Linked DNA regions of Homo sapiens: region 2 is linked to region 1. The links are contacts of gene promoters, found by promoter capture Hi-C in blood cells and fetal thymus (Javierre and others, 2016). All regions are on one chromosome and are shown on one strand. The core of a region is centred on a gene start or on the middle of the fragment in contact, and the rest is flanking DNA. Distances in the headings are between cores, read along the strand shown. Region 1 holds the start of HTR5A (5-hydroxytryptamine receptor 5A). Region 2 overlaps INSIG1 (insulin induced gene 1).

The links. Contacts are between HindIII fragments. The CHiCAGO score rates a contact against its expected background, and 5 or more counts as called.
Region 2: a fragment that was not itself captured here is called in contact with the fragment with the promoter of HTR5A in region 1 in 1 of 17 cell types (fetal thymus); the score reaches 7.6 in fetal thymus.

The regions. Positions count from the first base shown.
Region 1 is chr7:155,068,191-155,073,131 of GRCh38, forward strand. It overlaps HTR5A (5-hydroxytryptamine receptor 5A), which reads left to right and starts at 2,134. Exons shown (of 2, transcript NM_024012.4): 1 at 2,134-3,450. The coding sequence starts at 2,710. It overlaps HTR5A-AS1 (HTR5A antisense RNA 1), which reads right to left and starts at 3,367. Exons shown (of 2, transcript NR_038945.1): 1 at 2,844-3,367; 2 at 1-1,055. RefSeq lists enhancers at 1,826-1,895, 2,683-3,509 and a silencer at 2,006-2,095. The HindIII fragment of the contact is 4,035 bases long and covers 1,305-4,941 here.
Region 2 is chr7:155,300,419-155,305,359 of GRCh38, forward strand. It overlaps INSIG1 (insulin induced gene 1), which reads left to right. Exons shown (of 6, transcript NM_005542.6): 3 at 1,148-1,272; 4 at 1,833-1,999; 5 at 2,329-2,428. Among named protein-coding and RNA genes, the nearest start is that of INSIG1-DT, 3.9 kb to the left of the region's middle. The HindIII fragment of the contact is 492 bases long and covers 2,065-2,556 here.

The DNA.
Region 1 (4,941 bases), core at 884-3,383:
GCCACCTTCTTGCTTTATTCTCACGTGGTCTATCCTATGCACACACACATCCTTGGTGTCTCTTTGCATGTCTAAATTTCCTCTTTTCATAAGGATGTCAGTCAGATTGAATGAGGCCCTATCCTATGGCCTCATTTTAACTTAATCATCCCTTTAAAGATCTTATTTCTAAATATAGTCACACTATGAGGTTCTAGGGGTTAGGACTTCCATATATAAATCTGGCAGGGGGTAAGGGAGGGGGGAAGGAGAGACACAGTTTAACCCATAAGAGGTGACAACCCAGGAAGGTATATTTCCCAATACTGCCATTTCAGAGGTACCATATGGCAGACGGGAGTTTTATACCTTTTCAGATTCTTTTCCTTTTCAGTGTTTTTCAAGATAAAATTGGGGCTATGCTTTAAGATGAAGCTGAAATATTATGATTTTTTATTTGTGTATTTTTAAGAGATAAGCCAGACTTTCTGAACAGGGTTTGTCCCTTCTGGAAATGCTCCATTGGATCTCTCCTTTGTGGGAATATTCTATTCAGTCCCTAAATTTATGACACTCTATTTTTCACAAATTATCCTCAGTCATCCTTGGCTTTGTCCTTATTAACTATTCTGCTGCTCACTTAGCTATCAATACAGACAGCTGTGGCCTGGGGAATCAGTAGGGAATATAATCACAAGCCCATAATGCCTTTCAAGATTCATAGAGATCCATTGAGGCCCGCCTGTGGGCAACACAGTTCATCCATTCCTCCAGATAACAGGCCCTGAGACTAGATGCAGAACTTTTTCCAAAGAAGAGGATTCATAGTTTACATCTCATTCCCATTAGTTCCATGACCTCAAGAAGGTGATTTGCCTTAAAGAAGCACAAGCTTGCTTCCAGATTGGGGCCATGCACAGTTGCTCTGCATGCAGGCAGTCACCATCAGCTGTTTTTAAGTGGTGTTTGAAACAGCCCTGTGAATAATCCGGTATTTAATGATGTTGTCCCGTCCTCTAGGTTCCAGTGGAGGACTTTCTCTTTTCTCAGTGCATTCTCCTGATACTTGTTTTACTCTGCAAGAAACAAAATCTTATATGAAAACATGTTGCTAATCTTTAAATAGTTAAAACTTTCTGACTAAATTTACTTGTAAATGCACAGGATTTCACGACACTCATTTTATATACTTAAAAACAAAGCTTATTAACACCTTACTTTTTTCCTGCCATTTCTGTCCATCATTTTTAAAATTTCAACTTCTTTTATATTGCTATATCATGTGCCTCTTTATGAGGTGCTTTCAATCATAATTTCTGGTTAGAAGCTTCTGATATTTTCTCAGTTTCTGTGGATGTGTTTGTGGTTGTTTTGTGTGCATGTGTGAGGGGAGAGTTAAATTACCTCTTTCTTTTGAGTGAGATGGAGCTCTTATAATAACTTGTATCCCAATTTTTCCTTCTCAGGAAGCAAATTTAGTAGGGACCACTGGAGACTACCCATCTGCCTTATGACTCTGAGGAGATAAAGCATTCTTCAGCCATTCCTGTTGGAGCCAGGTGAAGCATTCTAGCTCCAACACCTCAACCATCTCTAGGAACAGCAGCAACTGCTATCTCGCCTCTCCTCCTTTAAGGAAAACAACCCTTAAGGGAAGCAACTGAGAGCTGGGTAAGAAGAAAGCAATCACGTGCTAAAATCTTCCGGAGAACAAAAGTTAGTGAAACTATCTTAGACCCCTAATTCAGAACTCTTGCAGGAAGAGTAAATACTTATGGAAAGCTGAGAAAGCAGTGTCTAGGGCCTCCAGTCCACCCCTAGAGGGACGTGTGGGGGTGGCTAGGGGAACGTTTTGAGGAAAGTTCATTGGTCAACTTGTTCAACGTGGCAAACTCATTTCAGGCAAGAGAGGCAGCACCGTGGACAGCGCCAACCCTCCTGCTCCCGGGCGGGGCGAGGTGGCAGCACCGCGGACAGCACCACATGTGGTGGCGCACACTGGGAGCCGCCAGGCGCGGGGAGCGCAGCAGCACCGCGGACAGCCCCAAAGCCGCGCGCTCTGAGCCAGGAGGCGGGGAGAGATGGCCTTATCAGCTGATGGCTTACGTAGGGCTAGATCTCCACTTGGATAAGGCAGGTCTCGGTGGGCGCGCCAGCATTCGCTCTCCGGAGCTGCAGCCTCCGAAGGGGTGGCGGGGGCAACAGGGACAGAAGGCAGGTCCCAGAAAGCAGGTTCCCCCAAAACTGGCTTCCCTAGCACGGAGTTAAGGCTGCAGCCGGCTGCCTAGAGAGAAGGGTGGGCAGGGAGACAACGCGGTGAGAGCGACTGCTCTGACGCACCAGCCCCTCTCCTGCACCCACACGCTGCTGGCCGCCCAGCTTCTCCCCGATCTGGGAGATGCTCGGCTCTGGGCGGCCAAACAGCCTTTCCACCAAGGCGAGGAGCCCTGGGCTCCTGACAGCTTAGGCGGGCCCTGGCTGCGACACGCAGCCCCTCGCCTCTGCTTCCTTAGCCTCTGAGGGCTTCAGACCTGCCGCGCTTGCAGCCACACCATCTCCAACGGATGCTCACTAGCAGGAAATTGGGGCCAAATTCACAGGCACTTTCCAGAAACTCCCCCACTGGCCAGAGGTTGCAAACATCCGGATTGGCTCTGGGCACAGTGGCCGCCTTAAGTCCTCCTGAACACCCCTTCTGCAAGTACCCCAGGGCGGTCTCCTGACCCAGAGATGGATTTACCTGTGAACCTAACCTCCTTTTCCCTCTCCACCCCCTCCCCTTTGGAGACCAACCACAGCCTCGGCAAAGACGACCTGCGCCCCAGCTCGCCCCTGCTCTCGGTCTTCGGAGTGCTTATTCTCACCTTGCTGGGCTTTCTGGTGGCGGCGACGTTCGCCTGGAACCTGCTGGTGCTGGCGACCATCCTCCGTGTACGCACCTTCCACCGCGTGCCCCACAACCTGGTGGCATCCATGGCCGTCTCGGATGTCCTGGTGGCCGCGCTGGTCATGCCGCTGAGCCTGGTGCACGAGCTGTCCGGGCGCCGCTGGCAGCTAGGTCGGAGGCTGTGCCAGCTTTGGATCGCGTGCGACGTGCTTTGCTGCACGGCCAGCATCTGGAACGTGACGGCCATAGCCCTGGACCGCTACTGGTCCATCACGCGCCACATGGAATACACGCTCCGCACCCGCAAGTGCGTCTCCAACGTCATGATCGCGCTCACCTGGGCACTCTCCGCTGTCATCTCTCTGGCCCCGCTGCTTTTTGGCTGGGGAGAGACGTACTCTGAGGGCAGCGAGGAGTGCCAGGTAAGCCGCGAGCCTTCCTACGCCGTGTTCTCCACCGTAGGCGCCTTCTACCTGCCGCTCTGTGTGGTGCTCTTCGTGTACTGGAAGATCTACAAGGCTGCCAAGTTCCGCGTGGGCTCCAGGAAGACCAATAGCGTCTCACCCATATCCGAAGCTGTGGAGGTGGGTATCTCAGCAATCCTTAAAAATACTCGACTTGCATCTGTACAGGCTATATCCCCAGGCCACCTGCCCCACCCCCACACTTGTAGAAAATGGAACTTTTTGTGTTTGGGAGTGGGGGGAGTAAACTGGGAGAGTGGAAGAAAGCATCAGAGATGTACTTTGCTCTGACATGTTCCCTCTCACAGGGCTAATCATATCATGTTCCTTCTCTAATGGGTTGTTTGTTAAATATACAGAACACGAGGAGTTCAGACTGCGTCATTCTGCAGGGTCCCCTTTGGCCCCCAAATTCTATGGATCTATAACACCCTTTAGAACATCTGAATAAGCTGGTATCTGGGGTACGCTGATTCAGTACACTGGAAAAAACTAGCAGCTTCCAGCACTTAGAATGGGGGTGTTCCAGGAGGAGGGGAGGCAGGGATGGGAGCATGATTTGATAAGAAGACTGCCATGAGTCAGGTGATGCAGGTTAGCATTTCATCCTAGTCTATTCTTTTTCTTTGCAAATTACAGCAGCCGGTTTATTAAAAATATGGTATCACCTAGGTTACTGTCATTCTGTGGCATCCTCCCGTCCTGACGTAAGACTGAAGATGTTGACTGCACTAGTCCCGGAGCCTGCATTTGTTATCTGCTTCCACTGCCTTAGGGTGTTACTTTATGGGTCTATCCCCCACAGCCCTATTAGGTTGTAGGTGTGACTGAGGACCACTTGTCTGCCTTCCTGAACATGAGTAAAGCTGCGGAAGGAAATTAAAAATCCAGGAAAGAGAATTCCCTAGCTCTCTATGAGAGGTATTTACTGCATGACAACCACTATAGCAACAGCGAGGGAGCTTTTCTCATCTTCTCCCACTCCTGTTTTTTTGTTAACTCTTAATAATCTGACCCTACGACTCATGATTCTGCAGGCTGCTCCCCCTTCATTACCAAGGAAGATTCCTTGAATCTAATTCACACATTTAGGTTAGACCAGAAGTCTACACAGTCCCCATTTTCTGTTGTTGGCTCTGAAACAAGAAAGTAGTTTAAGGAAGCATATGGAGTGCATACTATGGGTTTGGTGCAAGAGGTAAGCGAATGATAGAGATGTTGTCTTTGCCCATGAAGAGTGTGGTCTAGGGAGGGAAATAGACATCCACCCTGAGCTCTGTATATGCTTTCTAGAGTCAGTAGCTAACTCTAACCATCCCCAGTCAGTCAAACTTAGAGGGACCAGAGGTGTAGCTAGGGAAAAAGGGGAGAGGGCATCATCCTAGAGGAAAGAAGAAAACGAGGGGTCAGAGGCTACCTGTTCTTTTACCTATATCAGCATTTCTCAGCGAAGGGTAATACTGCCCTCCAGGAAACATTTGGGCTGTCTGGAGACATTTTGGATGATTAAGAATTGAGGGCCAGGTGCGGTGGCTCACGCCTGTAATCCCAGCACTTTGGGAGGCCGAGGCGGGCAGATCACAAGGTCAGGAGATCGAGACCATTCTGGCT
Region 2 (4,941 bases), core at 1,061-3,560, 230 kb after region 1:
AATAAATTGAAAACAACATTTTTTATCTGAATGTTTGATGCAAACTGTGTTTCTTGTTTCTCAGTTGAACCTAAAATGTATATTTCTTTCATACTACACTGAGGTGAAACAATTGCAGGGTTCTCAAGAGCCCTGGGACACAGTGACCCTTGTGTCCCAGCATCCAACCCCACGGGCCGGCACCCCACTCCCCCCTACAGACATTCATTCCTGCCTTCATCTTTGCCATTTTACTTCTCTTTTGGAATGCCATTCCTTCCCACCTGTCCAAATTCCAAGTTCGTGTCTATAAAGAATAACTATTCCAGACCACAGTGATCTCTTTCTCTGTGTCCCAGTTACATAATCCTTATAATTTTACACATGAGAAAACAAACATGCAGAGCCACGTCCCATCAGAGGGCAAGCTGGGATTTGAGGCTGAGTTTTCTCTTCTTGGTCTGGTGTTCTTTCCGCAGCTTGAGGCTTGACCATGCGGGAACCAGATGGAGAATAAGCGAAGCCTGTGTGGGGCTGTCTCGCCCCGTACTTGCCCATGTGCATGTGTGCACAGTAGGTGCTCAGTGCCTCGTACAGAACATGCTAGAACCCCCGAAAATCAACTCCAGGGCCACTCTAGGAGCATGTGACCCAGACTGTCAAAGTCACATCAGCAAATATGTATCTCATCACGTGCCCAGCCCCAGTACTGGGTGGTGGCAGGAGTGTCAGAGCTGTGATGTGACAGGGTGTGGACAGATGCTAACCTTTTTATTGTAAGATAGAAATCACACCGGATGAAAAGACAAGGTGAACTACATAGTCATTTAAGTTCTGTGTGCTTTAGGCAAATGTGGATATTAAATATAAGGTTACATATTGCTCATATTAATATGAATAATCCCTGCTTGATTCCTTCCTGTGTTTACTGAGACATGTTCAACTACACTAAATAATAGTGATTTTTAAAAAACTTTTCCAAACAGTACAATTTTGTGGGAGTGGTACTCAAAGAGAACAAGAATATAAAATCACTCTGAAGTTATAGCTGATAATTTTTTCTAGGAAAAGGACTGGTTTGAGTAATGTACTGTGTTACTAATGACCACGTTGAAATTCTGGAACTTGAATCTGCTGTATTCTAACATTGTCAACTTTTTTAAAACAGCTGTTGTTGGCCTACTGTACCCCTGTATCGACAGTCACCTCGGAGAACCCCACAAATTTAAGAGAGAATGGGCCAGTGTCATGCGCTGCATAGCAGTTTTTGTTGGCATTAACCACGCCAGTGCTGTATCCTTAATTTTCTGTGCTACGTCCAGAGTATCTTCTTAGGTTATATATTGAAGCGTTTTGTTTTGTTATATACTCAAATGACTCCATGTCATAATACAGACATGATGGTGGTACCTACCCATTTCAGATTACTAAAAAGAGAAAGAAGAATGGGGCTATCGATGACTTCATAGTAAAATATATTGTTTTATGGTCAAAATAAATATATATTTATTTATATTTTTATATATATTATATATATTTTTAAATATATATAATATATATAATAAATATATATTTATATAAATATATATAAGCACTTTATATATAGCTTTCAGCAAGTTTATTCTTATGGTTAAGTTTTTGACTCAGTGATGGCAGGGAGATTTCAGGTGATCTTAATGATTACTGTAACCTGTATCCAACAAATCCTTTCTTTAGCTTATTACACAGTTTTTATGGACAGTGAATTATCTGTGGTACAATAATAAAATACCCATGTTTTTAACCCTTGTGGTTTTACGTTTTTTTATCTTAATAAGAGTCAGCAAACTTTTCCTTAACTTTTATATCACCAGAAATTGGATTTTGCCAATAATGTCCAGCTGTCCTTGACTTTAGCAGCCCTATCTTTGGGCCTTTGGTGGACATTTGATCGTTCCAGAAGTGGCCTTGGGCTGGGGATCACCATAGCTTTTCTAGCTACGCTGATCACGCAGTTTCTCGTGTATAATGGTGTCTATCAGTAAGTGTGTGTTTTCAAATATTGGCTTTGGAAAGCTTACTTAACTTTCATTAAAACATCCACTAAGCTTAGATATTTTCATATTTTATTTGTTTTTTATATAGAATGATACAGATTTAGGCATGAAATTCTCAAAAATGCTGCTATCCATAACTTAATGTAACGCAAAGGAAAACCAAGTAGTAGCAGTTACAACCAAACAAATATGAACATTCGTAACATTGGATGGTTGATATGCGTTCTGCATATCCCCACTACAGAGAATCTGTGATGTAGAATTGAGCCAGGTGAAATTGACTGCTAAGGTACAGTTTCTTTTCTCGCTCCAGGTATACATCCCCAGATTTCCTCTATATTCGTTCTTGGCTCCCTTGTATATTTTTCTCAGGAGGCGTCACGGTGGGGAACATAGGACGACAGTTAGCTATGGTAAGTGAAATGATCATATTATCTTCTAAAACTTGCGTCTCTTTACCTTGATAGAATGACTTTACATGATACATTCAAATTTGCGTTCATATATTCTGGTTCAGACTTGAGTGACAACTACTGAGAAAAGCTTATATTTAAAAAAATAGGTAATGATACCCAGGTAATTCTTTGCTAAATTATAAAAATTCATAATATTTGATCTAGAAAAGGAACTAGAGCCCTCGCACTGCCCCTTTGAATTGCAGATGTGGTCAGTGTTCTGAATTCTTGAAATTTCTGTAGTAAGCAGTAGAGAAAGTGACTGGTGTGTGAGTGTCCCCTCCTCCTTCACCATCGGAAGCAGATCTGGATGACCTCATGCAGTGATACTTTGCTCCCTGAGCATCAGTCCACCAGTGTTTCTTTTCACAAAATCAGAGTGGATGCAGATGATGCTGGCCTCTTAGTCCACAGTCAAGCAAATCGAGCCTGAGGCTGCAGAGTCTGTCTCGGGCCAGGGCAGGGACTAATGTGGGTGGGCAAGGGGACAGCCTGGTTCAGGCAGGCAGCACCTTTCTGTGGGGCAGGTGGCCCTGGGCATGGAGAAGTGGTGATGAGAGCACCGCTGCACGTGGCCGGGTCACCATGTAGACGGACTGTCCTGCCTGAACATTGCATCTGTTCTCAGCTGCAGGAGAAAGCAGTGCTACCCCGCAGAGCTTCTCTCACAGCCCCCCTGAGGGAGACGGAAAGGTAGTGAACTCCAGGATGGCTTTAGCAGTTCTCATTAGTTAAAAATTGACATCTTAGCACTTCAATTTAAAAACATAGAGGTGGACTTTTAAATGTTATTTTGAGTTGACTTTGGCAGGCTGAAAGAAAGTAAATTAAAAAAAACAACAAAAACCTAGAGCTGTTGCTCTCGGAGATAAGCTCTGGGAAAACTTATCTTAGTACCTCATGCTATTTTTAAAACAGTACATTTATTTTTGCCAGCTGATACCCTTCTGTGAGGAGTTGAATTTGAAGACCACTTGGCTGTTTCACAAAACCAGAAGTAATTACAGGTAGAATTTGCAGTCTTCCACTGGTTACTGACTCTCTGCTGCCAAATTTCTCATGATGGAGAAGAAAGGACTTTGCTTGCCTTTTTTTTTTTTTTTTTTTTTTGAGACAGAGCTCTGGAGTGCAGTGGTGCCATCATAGCTCACTGTAACCTTGAGCTCCCGGACTCAAGCAATCCTCCCGCTTCAGCGTCCCGAGTAGCTGGGATTACAGGCACATGCCACCATACCCGGCTAACTTTTTTGCTTTTTGTGGAGATGTTATCTCCCTGCCTTGTCCAGGCCGGGCTCGAACTCGTGGGCTCAAGCCATCCTCCCACCTTGGCCTCCCAAAGCACTGGGATTATAGGCGTGAGCCTGGCCTTGCTTTTTTTAATATTAAAAATCTGGTCGGATGGTCCCACATGGAAATAGTATGTTGTTTTCATGCATTCGCCATCATCCCCGTTAATAGTCTTCAAAGGAGAGCTGGCAACTCCATCATTGCTTTCTTGCTTTGAGATTTTTGTTTCGGTACTCTTTGGGAGAGAATTCCTAAGAAGGTTTTTAGAATAAAATTGTCCTCAACCAGATTGACTAATTACACATTATAACTACAACTTGAATAACATTTAAAGAGTTGGTTATTTCTGTTTGATAGGTTGGTGCTGTTATATGTCAAGGCTTTTTAAATCGGTTTTAAGAAATAAGCATTATTTTGGTGGAGGTAGAAATTTCACAACATTCATAAGTTCTAAACATCTAGAAATGGTTGGAGGAAACATTTTCGTTTTGAAGATAGTTTCATTAAGTAATCCCTGCTGTGCTCCTTTGCTTACAGAAAAAAATGTTAAAGATAACTCAAAATAGGATAGTTGGTGTAATTATAATTCTCCTTACTTCAGCTTTCTCTTCATCCTTTTTATTCTTTAAGCTTGGGGGAAAATGTTTGGATGTTCTCGTATCTTAAAACTGGAGGAGAGAGGCTGGGCGCGGTGGCTCACGCCTTTAATCCCAGCACTTTGGGAGGCTGAGGCGGGCGGATCACGAGGTCAGGAGATCGAGACCATCCTGGCTAACACAGTGAAACCCCGTCTGTACTAAAAATACAAAAAAAAAAAAAAAATAGCCAGGCGTGGTGGTGGGCACCTGTAGTCCCAGCTGCTTGGGATGCTGAGGCAGGAGAATGGCGTGAACCCGGGAGGCAGAGCTTGCAATGAGCCGAGATTGTGCCACTGCATTCCAGCCTGGGTGACAGAGCAAGACTCTGTCTCAAAAAAAAAAAAAAAAACTGGAGAAGAGAGATCACCACCTTAATCCCCTTCCCTGCTGGGCTATCACATGAAACTGACCTCTGAGGTTCTAAGCCTAACCCGCCTACCACTGTTTTTATTCATAAATACTTAAATCCTTACCTCTGGATCCCAACTGTTACTCTTTTTTTCACTTCAAAATTTGCAAACTCATTTCTATCCATCAAACCCCGGA